Regions from separate parts of the Homo sapiens genome. Here all the other regions are linked to region 2. The links are contacts of gene promoters, found by promoter capture Hi-C in blood cells and fetal thymus (Javierre and others, 2016). All regions are on one chromosome and are shown on one strand. Each heading gives the region's core, a stretch centred on a gene start or on the middle of the fragment in contact. The rest is flanking DNA. Distances are from core to core; before and after follow the strand shown. Region 1 has its middle 16 kb from the start of TCHH. Region 2 holds the start of CRNN (cornulin). Region 3 has its middle 11 kb from the start of RPTN. Region 4 holds the start of TCHHL1 (trichohyalin like 1). Region 5 holds the start of LCE2C (late cornified envelope 2C). Region 6 has its middle 17 kb from the start of TCHHL1.

The links. The method cuts DNA at HindIII sites, captures the fragments that hold promoters and counts their contacts. A CHiCAGO score of 5 or more calls a contact.
Region 1: a contact is called between a fragment that was not itself captured here and the fragment with the promoter of CRNN in region 2, in 1 of 17 cell types (M2 macrophages). The highest score is 5.3, in M2 macrophages.
Region 3: a fragment that was not itself captured here is called in contact with the fragment with the promoter of CRNN in region 2 in 1 of 17 cell types (non-activated CD4 T cells); the score reaches 5.4 in non-activated CD4 T cells.
Region 4: a contact is called between a fragment that was not itself captured here and the fragment with the promoter of CRNN in region 2, in 11 of 17 cell types (erythroblasts, M1 macrophages, naive CD8 T cells and 8 more). The highest score is 7.8, in erythroblasts.
Region 5: the fragment with the promoter of LCE2C here is called in contact with the fragment with the promoter of CRNN in region 2 in 3 of 17 cell types (erythroblasts, neutrophils and M0 macrophages); the score reaches 5.6 in erythroblasts.
Region 6: a fragment that was not itself captured here is called in contact with the fragment with the promoter of CRNN in region 2 in 2 of 17 cell types (endothelial precursors and total CD4 T cells); the score reaches 6.2 in endothelial precursors.

Annotation. Positions count from the first base shown.
Region 1 is chr1:152,129,493-152,133,459 of GRCh38, reverse strand. No RefSeq gene overlaps it. Among named protein-coding and RNA genes, the nearest start is that of TCHH, 16 kb to the right of the region's middle. The HindIII fragment of the contact is 4,357 bases long and covers 1-3,575 here.
Region 2 is chr1:152,412,565-152,416,473 of GRCh38, reverse strand. It overlaps CRNN (cornulin), which reads left to right and starts at 2,211. Exons shown (of 3, transcript NM_016190.3): 1 at 2,211-2,260. The HindIII fragment of the contact is 578 bases long and covers 1,982-2,559 here.
Region 3 is chr1:152,145,730-152,149,846 of GRCh38, reverse strand. No RefSeq gene overlaps it. Among named protein-coding and RNA genes, the nearest start is that of RPTN, 11 kb to the left of the region's middle. The HindIII fragment of the contact is 1,115 bases long and covers 755-1,869 here.
Region 4 is chr1:152,087,169-152,091,361 of GRCh38, reverse strand. It overlaps TCHHL1 (trichohyalin like 1), which reads left to right and starts at 2,298. Exons shown (of 3, transcript NM_001008536.2): 1 at 2,298-2,342; 2 at 3,199-3,356; 3 at 3,819-4,193. The coding sequence starts at 3,219. The HindIII fragment of the contact is 182 bases long and covers 2,756-2,937 here.
Region 5 is chr1:152,672,936-152,676,622 of GRCh38, reverse strand. It overlaps LCE2C (late cornified envelope 2C), which reads right to left and starts at 1,344. Exons shown (of 2, transcript NM_178429.5): 1 at 1,295-1,344; 2 at 54-628. The coding sequence starts at 607. The coding sequence ends at 275. The HindIII fragment of the contact is 8,836 bases long and covers 1-3,205 here.
Region 6 is chr1:152,070,303-152,073,934 of GRCh38, reverse strand. No RefSeq gene overlaps it. Among named protein-coding and RNA genes, the nearest start is that of TCHHL1, 17 kb to the left of the region's middle. The HindIII fragment of the contact is 438 bases long and covers 2,150-2,587 here.

The DNA of each region.
Region 1 (3,967 bases), core at 148-2,647, 280 kb after region 2:
TCTGTCACCCAGGTTGGAGTACAGTGCTGTGATCCTGGCTCACTGCAGCCTCCACCTCTCAGGCTGAAGTGATCTTCCCACCTCAGCCTCCCAAGTAGCTGGGACTACAGGTCCATGCCACCACACCCAGCTAATTTTTTGTATGTTTGATAGAGACTGGGTTTCACCACATTTCCCAGGCTGGTCTCAAACTCCTGAGCTCAGGCAATCCCCCTACCTTGGCCTCCCAAAATGCTGGGATTACAGGCATCAGCCACTGTGCCTGGCTTGTTGTTATTTCTTTAAATAGGCTTTCTTCTCCCATTCTCTTTATCTGCTCCTTCTGGGAATCCTATGATGGATAAATTGCCTCACTTGATAGTGTCCTATAAGTTGCACAGGATTTCTTCACCATTTTTTATTAATTTTTCTTTTTGTTCCTCTGATTATGTAATTTCAAATAACTTGTCTTCAGGCTTGCTAATTCTTCTGCTTGATTGACTCTACTTTTGAAATTTCCTATTGAATTTTTTAGCTCAATCATTGTGTTCCTTAGCTCCAGAATTTCTGTTTGGGTCTTATACATGGTTTCTATCTCTTTGCTAAAATTTTCACTTTGTTAATGTGTTACTTTTCTAATTTCATTTAGTTGTCCATCTGTGTTCTTTTGTAGCTCACTGAGCTTAAGATAATCATTTTTTAATTCTCATGGTTATTTTTAAATCTATGAACTGTCTGGCAGTTAATAGATTTCCATTTCTTTGGGATTATTTGTTAGTGCCTTATTTTGTTCCTGTTGTTGTGTCATGTTTCCCCAATTATTCATGATCTCTGTGGACTTTGCGTCAATGTCCACACATTTGAAGAATTAGGCACCTTTTTCAGTCTTTGCAGACTGGATTTTGCAGAGAAAGCTCTTCATCAGTCAGCCCATCTAGAAATTTGGGGTGACCCAGCTGGCAGGGTCCTTGGGTAGGCTTAATGCTGGAGTCCTCTGGTGGGCTACGCTGGTGTGTGGGTCAGTGGGCATGTGGGTCCTGGTGCCTGCATCCACTAGGGCATGACTAGAGTTTGGATACACATGGGCAAGTCTGGCACCTATGTTTGCAGAAGCCAGCCTGGAACCTGGATCCTTTGCGTCTGACTTGGTGCCGGCATAGGTCTTTGACCTGAGTCCACAGGGATAGGACTGAAGCCTGGGTTCCTGGGGACCAGCCTGGAACCTGAGTCTGTAGGTGCTTAGCCGAGAGTCTGGGACCATGAGGGCTGGCCTAGCACTGGGGTGCATCTGGTGCCTGGGTATAAAGGAGCATGTCTGGAGCCTGGTTCCATAAGCAGTGACCTGGCACTGGGCAGGCCTGGAGCTTGGGTTTGCAAGAGCCAGCCTGGAGTTTATGTCTGCAGGGGCTAAACTTCTCCTTGGGCCCATGGAGGTTGCCCTGGTACTGAGGTCCATGGCAAAGTCAATTCCTCCTTTCATTCTCCTTCCCTCATACGAAGGGTATCTCTCCATACAGTGCTGCACAGGCTTGGGTAAGGGATGACATGATTAATGTGAAACTGTCCCTTCTACCCTCTCCAATGTGTCTTTTCTTATTTCTGCACTGCATCCAAGTGTTATAATCTCTAATTTGGATTCCTTAGCTTTTAAGAAGTTATCTTCATGTGTGGATGATTGTTCAATGGGTGTCTGTGAGAAGATGAGTGCTGGAAGCTCTTATTCTTCCATCTTGCTGATGTCATTCTCCCACATATGTAGCTTTTTACATTCTCAAAACTCATATCAATCCTTAAAAGTTGTTATTGCTATGAACATCTTATAGATACAGAAACTAATGCACTTTAGTGACTTCCTCAAGATGTTCCAGCTTATTAACATGTAGCAGAACCAGGACTTGAACTCAAATCTTCAGAGTCTAAGTCCAGGACTCTTGGCACTGTCTCACAGCTGGGCCATTTTTTACATAGAACTAAATGCATAAGGGAGTATCTAAAGGAGAGTAATTAGAATTGGGTAAAATTGATCAGATATTTCTTAGAGGAGGAGATTTTGAGCCAAACCTTAAGTATGGGCTAAATGTGGATTGACATCCTCAAGAAGGGCAGGAATCCTAAGCATCAGGAGTAGTTTGAGCAGAGACACAGATGAGCATCTACCAAGTTAAAGGCAGGAAAAAGCAAACAGAATAGGTGGCTACAGGAAAGAGCCATGTTAAGGAGTAACTGAAGATTGATTAGAAGAGCACTGCTCATTGCTTTCTTCTTGACTTCTCACACCCTTAGTGTCAGTAATGCTACCTTCTCTCTAGGCTCTCCTATCCCTCTGGAAATGTCTTATGCTTCTCCCTCATTTAGTCACCTTTAATGAGGCATTTCCTGCTCCTTTCAATCGAGTGCTTCTCAACTCTCACTGCCACTTTATCATCTGGAGAGTTCTGAAACACTGGTGCTTGGGTTCTATTCCTAGAAATTCTAATTTTATAGGTCGGTGGTGTGACCTTGGAAATCTGGATTTTTAGAAGTTCCCCAGGTGGTTCTAACACACAGCTAAAGGTGAGAACCACTGACCTACACACTTCCTCTGGTCAATCTCATCTTCTTATCACATTCCTCCTAATGGCTTCCAAATCTATATCTCCAGCCCAGATTTCTCTCCTTAGTTTCAGATCTAGATATCCTACTACCTCCTGGATCCCTTTACCAAAGTGTCTCACAAGCATCTTAAACTCAATATGCACAAAATTGAACACCTCCTTCTATATCCTTCTACCTGTATACAATCCTACTGTCTTCCCAGCTGCTCGAGCCAAAACCCCAGACTTCCCAATTATTTCCTCTTCGTTACCTTCTATATCCAATATGTCAGCAATCCCTGTGGGTTTCTATTTCTTAAAGATTTCCAATTCAAATGCTTTTTTCTCAGCCCAACTGCAAATATCTTAGTTCAACCCTCCATTTCTCACCTATTTTACTACAAAGGATTCCTAAGTGACTTCACTGTACCCTACCTTGCCCTCCATCAACCCATTCTCAATGCTACTGCTACAAAGACCTTTCTAAAATGCAAATCTGATTATGTCATCATCTCCTGCCTAATATCCTATAATTGTTCTCCATAGCCTGTGGGATAAAATCTACCTTCTTTACCTTTGCTCATAAAGTCCTTCATGATCTCCCCTCCTTAGTTCTCCCAACTTCAGCTCTCATCCCATTCTACCTCACACCATATACCCAACTTGTCCAACAGGATTTGTCACAAGCACCACCTTCTCTAAGCTACCTTCCTTAAGCCCAATATATGGGTGAAGTGTCCCTTCAGTGAGCTCCCATAATGCCCTCTATCATAGCCTTTATTATCCTGGGTTAAAATAATGCCTTGACCTGGATGACTCCCTGACCACACTGTAATCTCCCAAAAGGTTAGGATCACATATTATTCCTCTTTATATATCTGATTCTTTGCACATTACAAGTGCTTAATTAAGGCTTGTTGAACAAATGAGTGATTGAGTAATGGCTGAGGATGGCCAGCTGTTAAGGAAAGTTTACAACTGACTGACAATTGTACATTTAGCAATAGAAGGTCACTGTAAGCTTTTTTATCAGAAGAATGACATAAATGAAAATAATTAAGGAAGAATGATTTGATAATAGAGAATATGGTACAAATTTGTCACCACATGAGGGACACTGTATAAATCACTAAACTTCATGAGCGTCAGTAGAATGGAGGGCTCATTTAAAAGAGTTGGAATATCATTATCTGTGGTGCCTACTTCATACAGTGTTGCAAACATAAAATAAAATAAAATTTTTGAAAATGTTCTAAATCCATAAATCACTACACAAGTGTAAGAAATTATAATTATGCAAATAAGAGGTGTAGCCACCAAACAGTTTTTAGTAAAACCCAAAACAGCACGGCATAGTGAAAAAGAGCATGGGTCAAATAACAGCTCACCCCTTCATTATCATGTAACTTTCAGCA
Region 2 (3,909 bases), core at 962-3,461:
CCTAAGTTCAAATTCAGGTCTAACTTCCTAGCTATGTGACCTTAGGTAGTTTACTTAAGTTTACTTACTTACTCTCTGTGCCTTGGTTTCTTCATCTATAAATTGGGTTAATAATACCTACCAAATATTCATCTTCTAGATACAGCCTCTGGCTTGTTACTTCCCTAACTTACCCTCAGTTCCCAAACCTTTCTGGAAGTTCTAAGCCCCATCAGAAAAAGCTTCAAACACCACCACAGAAGAAGGTCTAATCGGCTCTCCCTCTTGTTCTCCAACTTCACCCTCTCATACTGGCCTTCTTCTAACTCTGATCAGGCAGAAGCAACCTCAGCCCCCTCTTGCTCCCAAAGGTTGAAGCCCCTACTCTGCTTTTCCCTGGCTGGTATGCCTACCCCACCTTCACCCCAGGACTGGAGCCAACCTGTCCCCATGTAGACAGATCTCTCCAAACACAAAGCCTGCATCCTGCCCTCCTGCAGTCTGGAACTCCCCAGTGCTCTGTGCCCTGAGGGGAAGTGCTGGAGGCTGTGCTGTTGCTACAGGGCTGCCCTCAATACACCAGTCTCTTCAACCAAGGCCCTTACCATGCCTTCCTATCCTGTTGTTCCCTTTCCTGTCTGTTGCATGCTGATCTATAAGTGAGGATGGTAAAGATGGCTTTCCCTTCCAGAGTCACTCAGGAAGCTACACAGTATATATTATCTGCAAAGTGCCACTCAAGAGCACTCTTTGGGACTTGGCTTCTGAGCTCAGAAAACTTCCTCCTCAGGAATGGTTCTTCATGCATTGAGGATAAGTGTGATGTTCATAAGGTGCCAAAACTCAATGAGAGAAGAATAAATGGCAGCATGGTGCAACAGAGAGAACACAGGCCTGGAGTCTGAGGGGCTCTAGTCCAGCACCGTCTCCGCTTCACAGAGTGGCTACTTCTCTGAGGATTTCTCAGTGTTCTCATTTATGAATTGGGCTTAGCCATACCACCTCAGAGGATTGCTAGGGAGATCAAATAAGATGAGATGGTAATGAAAATGGAATAAAATCAAATGAAATGAAATGGCAATACCATTATCATTAACCTCTTGGGGACTTACCCCTGGGATGGCCAGGCTATAGACTTCATGAGAGTTGAAACTGCTGCCATCGTATTCAACACTGTATTCCTAGGGCCTTAGCCCTCTGCCTGAAATGGAGCAAGCTTTCCATAAATATTTGCTGATTAGCCACCAGTTGAGTTTCCTGTCCTTGCAATGAGGAGTTACCACATGATCATGGTAAGCCTTTTTTCTCATCAGCTACAAAATGCTACCTACCCATAGCATGGGGTGGGGAAGGTATTAACTTTTTTTGTTTTAATTAAAAATGAGACCAACTTTAAAGAGATGAAACTGGCTTTCTTGTGTCTCATACACTAGGTGTGAAAGGCACTTACAAAACAAGAATTCAAAAAATGTTCTAAGTAATAACAGTTCTAAGTAACATCACCACAAAAACATGTGTGCCCTCTCAGAGTGGCTACTTTGTAAAAGTTAACCTCAATAGATATATTCTTGAACATTTATATTAAAAAAGGAAACAGTGGCCAGGCACGGTGGCTCACACCTATAATCCCAGCACTTTGGGAGGCAGAGGCAGGTGAATCATGAGGTCAGGAGTTCAAGATCAGCCTGTTCAACATGGTGAAACCCTGTCTCTACTAAAAATACAAAAATTAACTGGGCATGGTGGCAGGCACCTGTAATCCCAGCTACTCAGGAGTCTGAGGCAGGGAATTGCTTGAACCCAGGAGGCGGAGGTTGCAGTGAGCCAAGATCGCACCACTGCACTCCAGCCTGGGCGACAGAGCAGGACTCCATCTCAAAAAAAAAAAAAAAAAAAAAAGGAAAGAGTCCCATAACTTTGTAGGCTCATAGAGACAAAGAATGTTCACCAGGACCCCAGCCTGTACCAAGCACTGCTGAGCCCATCACAATGGAAAGAAGCTTCCCTGTCAAGAGGACTCAGCTACAGAAGGTACCAAATGTGGTAGGAGGGGCCTGTTAATTAGACCAAGGCAGTCACACATCAGCAGGTAAAACAGAGACAAGAGGAGGTGTGGCTGGGCTGGGCTGGATCTTGGATGAATCAAGCCTTCCCATAGGGCAGGATATCCTGTCTAAAACAAGAGCCTTGGTTAAAACCCCTATAAAAGGTTCTCATCACACTGACCTGGTACTCCTCACACCACTTAACAGCCACTTGTTTCATCCCACCTGGGCATTAGGTAAGTCCCCTCATAAGAAACCTCTTTCTCATTCTCAGTGTCTTGGTGATCTGAGCTCATAAAACTGGGGCAGTCAGGTATGGACTATGCATCCTTCAGAGCTAGCTGTGAGCACTGGGCAAACCAACGCTACCGTTGGGAAACATGCTCTCCTGAAGCAATCAGGCTTTCTCCTCCTCCCTGAGGCTGGCCTGGGAGCAGCTCCTCTCACTGGGAAACTGTGTGGGCAGCGGCTATGGGGCCACCCATGTGCCTTCCTGGATCAGCAAAGGTTTCTTTTTTCTAAGGCTCTGGAAGCTTCTTTGCAGTGCTGAGAGTCTATGGGATCAGAATCAGTTTACTTATGCCAACCTAGACAATAAGATCAAACTGTGTCATGGATGAAGGGGTTTACATGATTCCCCTCTCCTACACCAGGGTGATATTTAGGCAAAATATGTGTAGATTTTTCTAAGGAATCTAAAATGTAACTAAAAGGTCATCTTATTATTTTATTATCTAAAGGTCAGTGGTTAAAGTCTGCTACATGGTTTTAAAAAAAAAGAAAGATATTTTTCATCTATGTTGAGGAAAACATCCCCAGTTTTTTACCTTGATGAAAAGTTTGCCTGAAATTGTTGGTTACCAGGTCCTAGAAAGGGTTTCTCCTGAACAGCCCACCTTTTGCTATGACTTACTGAGTCCTCATGGCCACACTAATCTGCTTTTTCTAGAACTCAAGTCTCCTTCCTTCCTTTTTTCTCTTTCTTCTCCTACCTATATCTGCCTCGTCCCATCCTCTCTCTGGCTTTCCAGCTGCTACAGGCTCCATCTCCCCTTGCATTTGAGACTTGTCATCTTTGATACCATCTCCTCCTTTGGGTCTCTCCAAGGCTTCTGCTTAATGAATCTTCAAGTCTCTTTTCCTTTTGCTCATGCAACCAAACCCAGGCCTCACCTCAACCTACCTCTAGATTTCTGGCTAATGAAAAAGAAAAGCTTTCCCTTTGATTAGGAACCAACTCATAGGTCACCAGAAATCTGGGCCTGATGGAGCCACGTGCCTGTTGGGCAAGCTGACTTCTCTGATAAGTCTCAGGGCTGTGGACAGAGGCGACATGCAGAGAAACTTGGACCCTCAGAACTGGAAGGCCTCCCACCCAAAGAAGGTTCCCCCCTCCTGAGCATTCCCAGCAGGTGGTAGCCCAGTTTCTTCCCACTTTCCCAAAAAAAACAAGAAGGGAGGGCTGTGTCCCTGGAATTTCTGCTTGGCTCCCATCCAAGACAGGGGTTGACTCACAGATGTATTTACTTCCTTTTGGTGTTCCCGATGGGACCCTAACACCCTTGTGATAAATAAATAAATCCTGTCCACAGGGTACATTCTAGAAAGCCCATTGCATTTGGGTTAAGGAAAAATGGATCCTAGGATTTCTTGGCTCCTTAAAAATTGTGTGGCCTAACTTCTCTGAGCCTGTTTCCTCACCTATAAAAAAAAGTGGAAATAATAAGGATTAGAAGAGATGATGTACAGGAAAGTGATTATATAGGTGTACAAAAATTATATGTGTGTATATGTATATAATAGCATAATAATTATATTTAATAAGGAGCACTTAATATAAGCCAGGCATCTGCCAAGTGCTTTTTATGAATTATGTCTTTAAATC
Region 3 (4,117 bases), core at 63-2,562, 270 kb after region 2:
GCAATATGGATGCAGCTACAGGCCATTATTCTAAGCAAATTAATGCAGAAACAGAAAACAAAATACCACATGTTCTCACTTATAAGTGGGAGCTAAACACTGAGTACACATGGACATAAAGATGGGAACAATATACACTGGGGACCACTAGAGTGGGGAAGGAGGGAAATGAGTGTACATTGAAAAACTTCCTATTGGGTACTAAGCTCAACACCTGGATGATGGGATTCATACCCCAAACCTCACTGTCACGCAATATGTCTATGTAACAAACTTACACATGTACCCTCTAAAGCTAAAAATAAAAGCTGAAGAAAAAATTCCAAAGTTTAAAAATTCTAAAGTTTCTTAGAGATAAATACAGATGATATATACAAAAGTGATTTATAATCTGATCTCTCCTTGTTCATTTACTTGGTATGCATTATCTTTTCTTCTCCTACATTATTTTAATAGAAGCTTAACAAATACATTTTGATATGATTTGGGTATGTGTCTCTTCCAAATCTCACATTAAAGTGTGATCCCCAATGTTGGAGGTGGGGCCTAGTGGGCGGTATTTGGGTCATAGGGGCAGATTCTTCATGAATGTCTTGGTGATGTCCTTGTGGTAATGAGTGAGTTCTCACTCCATGAGGTCATGTGAGATCTGGTTGTTTAAAAGAGCCTGGGACCTCTTCCTTCTCTCTTTTGCTCTCTCTCCTGCCATGTGACATGCCTGTTTGCCCTTCACTTTCCACCATGACTAAAAGCTTCCTAATGCTTTCACCAGAAGTAGATGCTGGCATCACACTTCTTGTACAATCTGAAGAGCTATGATCCAAAATAAACCTCCTTTCTTTATAAATTACCCAGTCTTTTATTATTTCTTATAACAATGCAAAATGTACTAATACAGAAAATTGGTACTGAGAGTAGGGTGTTGCTATAAAGATACCTGAAGATGTGGAAACAGCTTTGGAACTGGGTAATGGGCAGATACTGGAAGAATTTGGAGGTCTCAGAAAAAGACAGGAAGATAAGGGAAAGTTTGGAACTTCTCCAAGACTTGCTAAGTGGTTGTGACCAAAATACTGATTGAAATATGAACAGTGAAGCCCAGGCTGATGAGGTCTCAGATGGAAATGAGAAACTTTTTGGGAACTGGAGCAAAGGTCACCCTTGTTACACTGTTACAAAGAGCTTGGCTGCTAGGGATCTAAGGAAGCATGAACTTAAGAGTGATGACATAGGGTATCTGGTAGAAGAAATTTCTAAGCAGCAAAGCATTCAAGATATGGTGTGGCTGCTTCTAACAGGCTATGATCAGATATGGGAGCAAAGAAGTGACTTAAAGTAGGAACTTGTAATTAAAAGGAAATCAGAGCATAAAAAATCAGAAAATTTGCTAGCTGGCCCTGTAGTACAGAAGGAAAGAGGCTTTTCAGGAGAGGAATCCGAGCAGGCTGCAGAGCAACCACTTGCTAAACAGATTTGAATGCCTAAATGGAAATAAATTGCTAATAGTCAACACCATGAGAAAAAAAGTCCCAAAGGCATCTGAGAAGTCTTCAGGACAGCTCCTCCCATCACAGGCCCAGAGGCCTAGGAGGAAAGAATGGTTTCAAAGGCCAGGCCCAGGACACTGCTGTGCCATGAAGCCTCAGGACACTGCTCCCTGCGTTCAGGCTGCTCTGGCTCCAACTGGGGCTCTAAGGGCCCCAGGTACAGCTTGGGCCCTGCTCCCGAGAGTGCAAGCCATAAGTCTTGGAGGTGTCCACATGGTGTTAAGCCTGCAGGTGCACAGAATGCAAGCATTAAGGAGGCTTGGCAGCTTCCACCTAGATTTCAGAGGATGTATGGGAAAGCCCAAGTGCCCAGGCAGAAGCTTGCCAGAGGTGCAGAGTCCCCACAGAGACACTCTACTAGAGAATATCCAAGGAGAAATATTGGGCTGGAGATCCCCAACATAGAGTCTGCACTGGGGCACTGCCTAGTGGAGCTGTGGGAAATGGGGCCACTGTCCTCCAGACCTGAAAGTGGTGGAGCCACCAGAAGCTTCCATTCTGAGCCTGGAAAAGCCACAGGCACTCAATTCTAACCCACAAGAGCAGTCACAGGGGCTGCACTCTGCAAAGCCACAGGTGCAGAGCTGCCCCAGGCCTTGGGAGCCTACCCTTTGCATCAGTGTGCCCTGGATGTAGGGCATGGAGTTAAGGATTATTTTGAAGTTTTAGGGTTTAATGCCTGCCCTACTGGGTTTCAGACTTTTGTGGGACCTATTGCCCCTTTTTTGGGCCAATTTCTCCCTTTTGGAGTGGGAATTTTTATTTATCTATTTATTTATTTATTTATTTATTTATTTGTTTATTTGTTTATTTTGAGATGGAGTCTCACCCTGTCACCCAGGCTGGAGTGCGGTGGCATGATCTTGGCTCACTGCAACCTCCACCTCCTGGGTTCAAGCAATTCTCCTGCCTCAGCCTCCTGAATTGCTGGGATTAAAGGCAAGCGCTACCACATCCAACTAATTTTTTATATCTTTAGTAGAGACAGAGTTTCATCATGTTGGCCAGGCTGGTCTCAAACTCCTGACCTTGTGATCCGCCTGTCTTGGCCTCCCAAAGTGCTGGGATTACAGACATGAGCCACCACACCCAGCCAAGGAGTGGGAATGTTTACCCAATGCCTATGCCACCATTATATCTTGGAAGTAAATAACTTGTTTTGTATCTTACAAGCTCATAGGTGAAACGAACTTGTCTTGAGTCTCATGAGAGACTTTGGACTTTGGACTTGATATTGGAATGAGTTAAGACTTTCTGGGGCTGTTGGGAAGAGAAGATTATATTTTTCAATGTGAGAAGAACACAAGATTTGGTGGGCTAGGGGTAAAATGGTATGATTTGGATGTCTGTCCCCTCCAAATTTCATGCTGAAATGTGATCCCCAATGTTGGAGGTGAAGCCTAGTGGGAGGTGTTTGGGTCACAGGAGCATATCCTTCATAAATGGCTTGGTGCCCTCCCAGGTAATGAATGAGTTCTCATTCTGTTACTTCATGTGAGAGCTGTTGTTTAAAGGAGACTGGCACCTCCTCCTCTTTCTCTTGCTCTCTCTCTTGCTATGTGGTGCACCTGTTCTCCCTTTGCCTTCTGCCATGATTGTAAGCTTCCTGAGGGTCTCACCAGAAAGAGAGTAGATGCTGGCACCATGCTGCTTGTACAGCCTGCAGAACCATGAGCCAAATAAGCCTCTTTTTTAAAATGAATTACCCAGTCTCAGGCACTCCTTTACAGCAACACAAAACTAATACACGTTTCTTCAAGAAAAGGTTCATGCCTTATTCATTGTATCACCTAGAATATTTCAGGTAAATATTTGGTGGATGCTTGCCAAATCAAATTCAACTGAACAGACTCTCTCCATCACATCATGACTCTTTTCCTCCATGCCCGGCACCACCATTCTATGCCCATTGTCATATCCTACGGGTAATGTTGCTTTCATTCACCTCACTTTCTCCCAAAACACAGTACCCAACATTTTTCTCTCTCAGATTTCCTGTGCACTGCATACCAACAAGCCCCTAAACACCCCTAAATGGTAGCTAGGTTCCCCTCAGCACCACCAATGCCCTCCCTGAATTGTAGGATCCCAGGTTGTGACCATTCTATTTTCTCACTCCTTAGACACTTCCTTACTTCTTCTTCTCCCTTGGAGTTCAAACCCAACAATTCCTAACCATCAACTCCTTGAAAGGCCAATTTAAAACTTATCTTCTCTAATCATCCCTCAATGACAAACCCTTCTTTCTACTGTTGATTTTCATCAGTGTGAATCACTGGCTGAACTGTATGCATTTTGCTTGCTGATGTCAGCATATACAAGTGTTCTTCCGTTGTTCCTGTTATGTATTTCATTGTTCCTTAAAAAAAGCTATAAGGTCATTAAGAAGCTGACATGTCTCCTGATTTCTTTGAGAACCAAGCCGAAAACGAATTTACACCATTTTTATTAGGTAACTTATTACGAGACTTACTAAGGCAGTAGGAGCCTAACTTGAATTGAGCATTTACTGAGTACCTGCTGTTAAAATACAATATCTGGCTCTTGCTCTCGCTCTCCCTCTCCCTCTC
Region 4 (4,193 bases), core at 1,597-4,096, 330 kb after region 2:
AAGCAGGAATGCCTATAAAAGAGTTACAGAGCCACTGTTTAGAGACAAGGCAAGATCCAACTCTAACTTTCTAAATAGAAACAATAACATAAAACTATAGACATTTAAAGTTGAAAGAGTTCTGTACCATTCACTGTAAGCCACTCCTCTCTTACGTCTTCCCATGGCAAGACTTCTCCCAAAACCTAGCCAACAGATCATGATTCAGCCTGTATAGGAACAGTTCATTGCTCTAGTAGTGGCCCAAGTCATTGTCAGACAACTCTGCTCCTTAGAAAGTTCTTAAGAGCTGGAGTCTGCTTTTTAGAAAGTTTTAAGCATTGATTCCAGCTGTATTACCGGGCATTACACAAATAAGAAACTCAAGGTAATGAAAACACTATGACTTCAGAGACATACTTTCTTTTTTTTTTTTTTTTTGAGACAGAGTCTTGCTCTGTCACCCAGGCTGGAGTGCAGTGGCATGATCTCGGCTCACTGCAACCTCTGCCTCCCGGGTTCAAGCAATTCTCCTGCCTCAGCCTCCCGAGTAGCTGGGATTACAGGTATGTGACACCATGCCCAGCTAATTTTTGTATTTTTAGTAGAGATGGGGTTTCACCGTGTTAGCCAGGCTGATCTAGAACTCCTGACCTAAGGTGATCCACCCGCCTCAGCCTCGCAAAGTGCTGGGATTACAGGCGTGAGCCACCACGCCTGGCCCAGAGACATACTTTCTTGAAACCTTTCATTTCTGAATCCTGACTCTGCCATTACCTAGTAAAGGTACATATCTGTAGGCAAATTGCTTAACAGCCTTAACTTCCTTATCTGTTAAAAGAGGATAATAACTACCTAAAAGGGCTGTGAGGATTAAGATAGCCCATGTAAAGCTCCTGACATGTCATAAGTTTTCAATAAACATTAATTCTTTTCTCTTCCACACCCATAAAAATCCTTCAAGTATTTGAAGACAGTTATTATGTCTCCCATAAGTGTTTCTTTCCAATCCAGCCTTGAATATACCCAGTTCTTCATGAGACTGGCCCATGAGCTCCAGAGCAGGAAGATATAACTTACTCAACTCTAAACACTCCAGTTCCTGGCATAGTGTTGAGAAATAGCTGGTACTCTGGGGATATTAACTAATCAGAACTAAGATGACCTTCACATGCCAATTCCAATTCCCAGAAGTCTTCTCCCTTTGGGAGGATGCTGAGAAATTGTTTGTAGGTGTAAAGTATCAGTATGAATGTTTTTCCCCAAAATTTAGTTCCCTTGTATGTTCCTCGATAATCAGGAAATTCAGAATAAGGTTTTTGCTCAATAGCAATGCATCCCTTAGCTTCAGCTTTCTCATATAATTACCCCCATTCCCACCCCATCTTTAACTTGGTCTGTGTCTTTTATATTTGTTTGCATTGATCTGTCTATTTCTTCCATCCTTTGACAAGGAGTGTTTTAAAACATACTCTATTTTTTAAAAATATCTAAGAAAACCATTGAATCTAATTCTTATTTTATTAAATATTCTCTACTAAGAAGGACCCAGATCTAGGAGACAATTAAAATGTTTGCCAGTTCAGCATCTCAGACTCACTTCTGTTCTCAGCTTGATGATTTCAACATCTCCCTTTCCCCTTTACAGGGAGAACACAGTAATATAGATTATTGGTTTCAAGCTCCTTGTATAGTAAAAATGTCTTTAGAAAGCAAATATCAATCACGTTTTTAAAATAGCACAACATAGGTAAGCAAGGCTTTGCACACCAAGCAAGAATTTTTTTTTTTTTCTAACTCTGCCTCTGGGCAAGGAGAGCAAAGCATTGAAACATCTGAATCAACTGGTATCTCCACTTTTGTCACATGGCTAAATGGGGGCCTTTATTTTTAAACACATGATTGACACCCATCTCTCAGGTTTGGGTCAAATACGGGCCATCTTGTGGGCAGACAGAGGAATCAGATGACTTATGAGGTCCCTGCCAGCACTATGATTTGTCAGACAGAAATGTAATTATGTCCTTAGGTTAAAAAATGGGGGAGGGAAGCCAACACTACCTTGAAGAGCCTTCAAAACTATAATCTGCAAAAGTCAGTAAATGAATCAAGAAACCCCCTCCCCTTTCTTTTGATGCATCTGAAGCTAAGATTTAATTGAAACTGCCTAAAGAAGGAAATAAAATTAAGACAACTGACAACAGAGCAGGGGAGACTGGATTTGGTGGTGATGTCAGGTCATTAGACCCAGAGGGTGTCTCCTTCTTAACTGTGCAATTAGGACCTCAATAAAAGGTTCCAGCTCCTGCTGTCAGCTCACAGCCCGCTGCCCCACGTTCTACCTGCTCTCGCTTGTGAACTAGGTAAGTCCATCTGCTTGAGCATACTTGGGATTTCAGTTGCTGTTTTGCTTATATGTGAGATTGCAAGAGGATTTCAAAGGAAACACACTTTAAGTCTATGTCAACCCCTATTAATAATAATAAACTGGGAGCGCCAACCACCCAAATGCATTCCTTGATTATGGAACTTCTTTGATCATTTTCTTTTTAAAAAAAACATAAATTGTTTAGAAGTCATAGGCATGAATATTATTCAACAAGGCACAGGATCAGATCTCTATTGCAATGAAAATGTAGAAGCATTTAAAGGATGGGAAATGAATGAATAAGGGGTCGGGACATGGAATCATGTCTTCTTGGTTAAAGCATGTTGTTACCACCTGCAAACATAGGGGTTAATTTTCTTGGTGTGACTTATCTTTCCACTAGAAGCTTTGCTAACTTTAAAGGTTATACCCTCCTAACCGCAGGAGGCTAGACTGAGCCAAAGGGAGAGGAGAGCAGATAGACACTCTTGGATGAGGCTGGAAGAATGGGTCCAACTCTATTGGCTTCATTTATGCATTTCAATCCTTATGCTTGAGTTCTCTTATCACCTTCCTTTTGCAATGAAGCTTTCTCTGAGCACATGAATGTTGCTGTTTACTGAAGAGTGGGGTGAATTGTCTCTTCTAATACTTACCTATGCTGGGTCTGATTTCACCACAATGTCTGGTACAATACTAAATCACCCCTGGAGTTCAGATATAATATTTTAAGATACAGAATAGAGCAGGGGTTGCAGTGGAGATGGGGGAGGAACAAAAAGGATAATCTTGGTATCTCCTCCCTGAAGGACCCATCCTGGAAAATGAGCTTTGTTTATTCTTTCTCACAGCCTCTCCTGAGTTTGTAAAGATGCCTCAGCTCCTGAGAAATGTCCTCTGTGTAATTGAGACATTCCACAAATATGCCAGTGAGGACAGTAACGGGGCAACACTGACTGGCAGAGAGCTGAAACAACTCATCCAGGGCGAGTTTGGGGACTTTTTTCAGGTGAGCTTCTCACAGAGCTGTGTAAATTCTTTCCAACTCACCCTTTCTTTATAATCCAAGCAAGATGAGCATATGTGATCCCCATCCATTTTACACCTAGCTAACAGTTCTCAGCACTCACTGTCTCTTGAACAACTATTTTCAGTCTCAGTTCCATACTCTGTGCAATTACTTAGAGAAAAAGAGGTTTTCGTCACTGGGATTATTGCTTCTGCAAAGCTGACTTCTGAAAGGAGTCATAAACCATTATGCATCAAAATGCAACTCACAAGTGTTGTAAATGCTCTTTCTCAGGCATAGCTCTCTGATGAAAAATGGCTTGCAGAACCAATAAGTTCTTGCTGTTCTGGGAAAGTTAACCAGTTACTGAGGAATGAGGTCAGAAAAATAGGATTCTTGGGAGACACTTAGGACACTGGACCACATATAAATAAGCTGATTTCTCACTGTGTTTTCATGCAGCCCTGTGTCCTTCATGCTGTGGAAAAAAATTCAAATCTTCTGAATATTGACAGTAATGGCATCATCAGTTTTGATGAATTTGTTCTTGCAATCTTCAACTTGTTGAACCTCTGTTATCTTGACATAAAATCATTACTAAGTTCTGAACTAAGACAGGTGACTAAACCAGAGAAGGAGAAGCTAGATGATGTGGATGTTCAGGCAACCACCGGAGATGGTCAGTGGACAGTGGGAACTTCACCAACTCAAGAAAAGAGGATGCTTCCTTCAGGAATGGCATCATCATCTCAGCTCATCCCTGAAGAAAGTGGAGCAGTTGGAAATAACAGAGTGGACCCATGGAGAGAAGCCAAGACTCACAACTTTCCAGGAGAA
Region 5 (3,687 bases), core at 95-2,594, 260 kb before region 2:
CTTTGGAGGACATTTGAAATCTCAGAAGAGAAGAGAATGACCAAGACATTTAGTGAGTCAGAGATCAGAGCTTTATTATAACATGAGGTAAAGGAGGAAAAGAAGACTTGCAATTGGGGTGTTACATCAAGCACGAAGTTCTTCCAGGAAAGCCCCATGAGTCTTTGTGGTCTCTGCCAACCAATGAATGGAATGAGAGGAAGTGGAAAGAGTATCCATCAGGCCGTAGCAGGTTCTTGGCCATTCAGTCCCAAGAGCTCTTCTGTAGCCCAGGTCAGCAGCAGCCCCCAGAGCTGTGGCAGCAGCCAGAGCCCCCAGAAGGTTCACTCTCACAGCAGTCGGGGCTCTGGTGCCGGCGCCGGTGGAAGAGACGGGGCCTGTGGTGGCTCAGGGAGCAGCCACCAGCCCCAGAGCTGCAGCAGCCCCCAGAGCTGGGACCACAGCAGCTCCCAGAGCTGGGACCACAGCAAGAAGAGACTGCAGGGAAACATGGAGCTGGGCACTGTGGTGGGCATTTGGGGGGACACTTAGGTGGACATTTTGGGGTACACTTGGGAGGACACTTGGGAGGGGGCTGGCACTGCTGCTGGTTTTGCTGGCAAGACATGCTGGCAGGAGTTTAGTCAACCTGAAAGATAATAATGAAACTCTTTAAATATTTCAAACCAAGGATCATATTATACCTCTTCTAAAATCAATGCATGTGTAGAAGAAGAATGATATTTAGATAATACAATCACATCAGTAACCTGAAAGAAACAACTTGAATCTTTCCTCTAGATAAAAGTACGTAGATAAAAAATCAACAGAATGAGCTTCTTACTCTTCCTTTCAGGGGAAACTGCGATTGCTCTATCCTCACAAGCCCGAATAGAGTATTCACAGCTCCCTGAAGTACCTATTCCTTTAATACAAGCCCTAAGGACAAGCTGGGTGTTGCAGGACATACCAAGGGGTCCTCTGGAAAATATTTTGCAATGAAACCTCCAGATAAAAGAGCCTGGCTTGAAGTATTTGCCAGTTTCCATGGTGTAAATATGCCCAACACAGCAGTTTTGAAGTTACCAACATGAAGTCACTGAACACAGAATTGGAAAAGATGTGCACAGTTAGCTTTCCCCACCTATATGAGCTCCGGTAGGCCTCAGAGCCTCAACAGATTCGAGGCAGGCTGAGTCCCATTCCTGCTCAGTATGGCAGAACACAAGCACACAACTCTTTCTCCAGCCTACCTCCATCCTCCCCATCCCTCTGCCTTGCTCATACCCCTCTGGTATCCCAGGTTGCCACTCACCCTGGTCACACGCAGGAGCACAGACACGTCCCTGGGGAGTCAGAGCAGATGAGATGCTGAAGCTGGATGTGTCTTTTATAGGGCCCAGGCTTGGCTCTGGAAAGAGCAGGAGGTGGCTCTTGCACAACCAGGCACACGCTGGGTCATTCCTGACATTCTCCTGCCTCTTAGTCCCTGCAATCCAAAGAGGCCTCAGGAGCTTCCAGGACTCCTCTCTGGGGCTGCAGTCTAGAGAGGCTGTAGCCAGTCAGAGCCTCCACCAGGTGGGAACCCTAAAGAGTTAACTTAGGGTACCCAAGGGACCCACACCTGGACAAGATTCTGTTCCCTGCATTTTTTTAATGCATGTCCTCTGAGGAAACATCAGTTCTGAGCCACAGCTTTCCCTGACCTTGTGGAAATGTTCCATTATGACTCCCTCCACCCTGAGCAGTTTCTCTTCCATGTCCTGCTGTGGATCCAGCCATCCCAGAGGGCTTCTACAGCCTTGGCTTTTTCTAGGCATCCCTCCCTTGCCTAGGCTCTCAGCCCTTCCTCCTGGCCTCTGTGTTTCTGCTTTTCCTCCGACTCACCATGGCAAGCAGATTCGGTGGATTAAATCTGAGTTGATTCTGTCACCTAAAGCAAGGAGAATGATTGAGAATAAACAATTCCCTCTAAAATCTAAACATTTCCTTCAGTCAGAGGACTTGTATTGAATGTGCTACTGGAATCAGAAAACTTGCATATGATAACTGGGTAATCTCTGAAAGTTGCTGTAACAATTATCAATAATTGCTAGAGTATTACTATGATACTCACTGTGAGTATCAGTTCTCACATATAATGCCCATTATAAACCTATCAGTGAGATATACCTATCTCACTGAGCTGTTTGTAATATAAAGTGAGAAGCAAGAAAGAGCTAAGTATGACATTTTGTGCCTGATAGACCCTTAATAAATATATGTTTAATAGAAAAACTAATGCCATGTATTGGATACTTGCCCCGGTCTTATGTGTCATTAATTGCCCATATAGAGCCCTTACCCTCAGAGAGCTTAACTCCACCAGACACTTAGATTATTTGAAACCTGTCTTGGGAAGTAGACATCATTTCTTGGGGCTCCTATGCAGAGGGAACTCCTTTCCTACCAGGAAGTAGAGGGTCAGCCAGGAATCTAGTTATTCAGAGTTCTGATTCAGGGTTGCACTAGACAGAGTTACCCAGTCATTTATTCATTTAGTTTAAACAGATACATTGAGTGTGAACCTTGAAAACATTACACTACGTGAAAGAAGCCAGTCACAAAAGACTGCATATTGTATGATGTTATTTATATGAAATGTGTAGAGTAGGCAAATCTCTGGAAATAGAAAGGGGATGAGGCTTTAGCCAGTTACAGCCTCTCCCAGGCTGGACCCCTGAAGAGCTGACTCAGGGCATCCGAGGAACAAGAGCCTGGATGAGATTCTGTTCCCTGTATCTCCTTTTATGTTTATGCCTGTCCTCTGAGAAATATCAGTGGCTTCCAGGTGCTTTAGCGGGCTGGGAGATATTGAGAAGTTACTGCCAATGGATACAGGTTTTCTTTGTGAAGTAATGAAAATGTTCTAAAATTATGGTGGTGATTGTCCAACTCTGTGAATATACTGAAAACCATTGAATTTACACTTTAAACAAATGAACTACAAATATGTTAATTACATCTCAATAAAGGTGTTAAAAATTAGAATTGAAAAAAATAGATATTCACACCTCTGATTAAAACAGAAACAGACTGTGCCTTCACATTGCCTAATGCCTACTTAGTGGGGGAGGGGAGGATGCGGAGAAAGCATAGTTTCCCATTGTCAGCTTCTAACTGAGGGATTCTGTTCTCCTAGTTATGCAATCCTATTATCAGATCTGATTCCTGCTCTCAGGAAGCTTTTACCTGAAGGATAAAGTAAGTCAACAGTGTGGTCAGAGCAGTGAATTCAAAAGGCATTCTTTGAAAGCCTACAACGTTCTTGAATCATGTATGTCCAAATATAGGGATATAGAGGTGAATAATAAGTAGCCCATGACCTCAAGGACTGTAGAATTTTTGTAGCCTTTTTGAAGATGACTGCAGACAAACATAGGTCCAAAGAAGATGACGTTTGGGGCCTGAACCTCCTGAGTCACTATTTCCCAGTGTGATTAGAACATGTTAGTTCATTCCACTGTCTTCATGGTGATATCACCCTCAGCTTCCTCATACTCTTTGACAAAGATATTTGTAACAATGTGGTAAGTGAGGAAGTAGGGGAGGCAAGTCTGTGTCTGTGTGTGTGTGTATGTGGGTGTGTGCTCTGTATGTGTGTATGTTGTATTTATACAAAAATTCAGGTAAAATGAACATGCACATACATGAGCGTCTGTATTGAGT
Region 6 (3,632 bases), core at 1,119-3,618, 340 kb after region 2:
ATGAAACAACTGGAGAGCACACAACTCAGGGCATGTATAAAGCTTCATCATCCAACTCCTGCCAAATGCCTCAGTGCAGGCCTGGCTGGGCATGGCACCCATAATCAGTGTAGAAACTTTTTTTTCAGGGGGGCAAAATATGGTAGTTAGAGTTGTTGATTTGTTTTTCAACAAATATTTACTACATGACTACCACCTGGTAAGCAATTTCTAGGTGTTGGGAATAAAGCGGTGAACAAAGCAGACCAAGTTCCCGCCCTCATGTTTCTACATTCTAATGGGGAAAATAGAAAATAAACAGATAGACAAACAATTGTATACTAACTCATGTGGGATAAATGTTAGGGAGAGTAAAAAGCAGAGTAGGAGGGTAGGGAGGGAGTCAGGGGAAGTGGGAGTGTTGCTGTTTAAGAGAGGAAGGTCAGATGACACCCGAACAGAGACCTGCAGAAGGTGAGAAAGGAAACCATGCACTTCAGAAAAGAGCACTTCACAGAGGAAACGGCACGTACTAAGGCCTGGAGATGGGCATGCCTAGCACATTCAAGGAACAACAAGGAGGATAGTATGGTAGGAATGTCATAAGCAATGATGGTGACAGTGGGAAAAGAGGAGGTCAGCGAAGTGTGGACCCAACCAAGTCACCAGGGAAGGCTCCCAGGAGAAGATGGAGCTTGGCCAGCAGGGATGGGCCTGGTTCCTCTCAGGCCGAAAGGACCAGCATTAACAAAGGCATGGAGGCAGGCGAGAGGGTGTGGTGCTCAGAGAGCCAGGAGTACAGTCAGTCCTATTCCAGATATGGGCAAACAGGAGAGAAGCCTGGATGGTGAGGAGGGCCTGTGATGGAGTCTCCTAAAAACAGCCATAAACCTTATTTCTTGAGGGCTTGTCAAAGCACTGAGATAGGAGTTGCAACCCCAGCACTGTCCTTTCCACAAGGACCCATCCTAGGCACCATTTTAAGGAAAGAAAGTAAAAATAGAGAAGAGAATTTGAAGAAAAGATGGAATTCTTCCATCACTATCGATATATGTCTGGGTGTGTATGTTGCCTAAAGGGGCCAGCAGGCTTCATGACAACATTAGGATTGTCCAGAACCTTCAGAAAATATCACATGCATTTCTTCCTGACCTCCACAAACCACTGAAGGAGAAACCGGGGAATGTTTCAGAGCCAACTCTGAGGGTGGCTGATGACACACAACTACCCCTGAAGGGACCCCCAAGAAGGTGGACAGGAGTTTCTTTGAGGTCCATGTCTGGGCAAGTGGAGCATGAGGATGAGGCTACCTGGAGGCTGAGACAGGGAGCTTGAGGCAGACAGGAAGCCTCTCAGGAGCAATGCTTCTTTGCTGAGCCCTTTAGATCAAGCTTAAAGCTCAGGCGTTTTTGTAAAGCCATGAGAATATTCTGGTTTCCACTGGGTGGGTTGAGGTGGTTTTGAAACACAGAATCTGAAACTTGCCCAGCCGAGTTACTAGCTCTATTTGAGTAAACTGCAGGACAATAATTTTTCTCAAACAAGCGTTTAGTTAACTGTTCCTCACCATTCCCCTCACTTCTCCATGATTCTATTCCAGGCCTGGGAGTGGTGTGGAATCAGATCAAGGAGTTCATGTGGTTTCTGGTCTCAAGAAGCATATGATCTGGCCCAGGAGATGAGGCTAAACCACAGAAGAAAACCATGTGGAGACTTGCGTACCATGTCCACCTTGGTTTTCTCTACTTCTAAAGACGGAAAAGCTCAGAAAGAAAAACACCAAACTGATAATGGTCATTGCCTCTGAGAAAAGTAAAAGGGAATCAGGAGAGACAGTAGTAGTCAAAGAAGTCTTAGATGTCATCAAGTAATGTTTCAATTTTTTCAAGGATCAGGAACGTATGTATTATTTGTGTATAAATAAAAATTACTTTGAGATCTATAATTACTTCCATATGTTTTAATCACAAACAAGAAAATCATACCCCATACTGATTTGGGTCTTACTTAAAATCCTTAACAATCATAGTTTCAGAAAAAGGTCCTGATACATAAGGAAAATCAGTTAAATGTTAACATTCTTTGGCCACTGGGTTTATTATCTTCTTCTAAGAAAGACACAAGGGATGAGAATTTTCTGCTTTTTTCCATTTTCTGATCAAGAAAAGCTTGACTGAGCTGACCAAGAACATGTCAAGGATCTGAGAGTCCCCCGCCATGCCCCAGTTCATTCAGTTACATCCCTTCCTAATTGGGAACATGTTTAGGGGAGCCTACATTTCTGTAATTACTGGCCCCAGTGTATTTTTAAAAGCCTCATTCAGATGGAACAAATTCTTTGCATTTAATCATGCTGAACCTCATAATAAACATAATAACTGGGATTTGCACGGTGCTTTTCTTCAGAATGAGCTTAAAACACATTATAATCCAGTGCTTCCCTGAGCCACACCGTATCCTTATGACACATCCAAGAAATGGTGACCACTAGATCCCACTGCTGAGGCTCAGAGGGATTTGGTAAGATGCCTGAGGTCACAGAGCAGGCAAAGTCCAAATGTGCACTCAGGATAGCCACCCCAGCAGCAACTCCTCCAATCACCAAGCTTCTCCTACAGACAACTTGATGCCTTCAAATGACTCTGGCAGTCTCCTCTTATCTGTAATCATGGCTGTGGACACTTTCCAGGAAACTCCTCCCAGGCAGTGTCAAGACAAACCTTGACGCTGAGGGGCAAAGACCACGTCATCAGAAGAGTGTCACCACAGAAGTCATTCTGTCACCATTGCACATGGACTCTGGGTCAGAAAATGTCCTGTTTGTACAGGCAGTGTGGGTGGTAAGCATGGGCCCTGGCACCAAGCAGGCCTCCCCATTGTGTGACTATGGCAGGCTATCGCCTGGTGTGGACACACAGTAAGCGTCTCTTTCCCTTCTCATAGCAAGAACTGGATGCATTCATTTTCAATCTACTTGTCTTTTATTTTCCCTGATAGAAACTAATAAATTTTTAGGTAAAAGAACGAAAGGGAAGATCAAACTGAATGGAGACTTCAGGTCTGAAACAAATGGGGTGGGAATAGAGAGGTAGAAGAGACAGAGGTAAGAAAAGGCACACAAAGAAAGGGACAATGAGAAACAGAAAGAGATTGAAATGTTGAAAGGGGGGAAGACAAAAGGAAGACGGAAAAGAGAACAGAGAGAGACCATCAGAAAATGAGAAAGAGTGGAGAAAAGCAAGAAGGCCCAGGAATCAGATGAGCCAAACTCAGGAGAGACGGGCAGCAGACCAGGTGTGTCAGCAACAGCAGCCCGGAGACCACAGGCAAACCCAGAAGCTACAGGTCTGGCTGCCAAAGACGATTTACCAAGAGGGTGGGGAGACATTTGCACAAGGATAATTCCTCTCAAAAGCAAGGCTTTTCAAAGCAAGAATTATAATTATCTCTGTTACTCTTATTAATCACTCTAACGGCAACTAATGACCACACGGAGCCAGTTCATCAGGCTCCTGCCCTTTAGACACACAGGGAGAAAGACCTGCCTCCTCCTCCTTCAGTAGTCACCCATGCCTTGGGCTGTCTGAATACGGGCAAGAAAGAGTTTCCTACACAAATTCAAAAATAATGAAATATTATTGAGTCAAGTATCT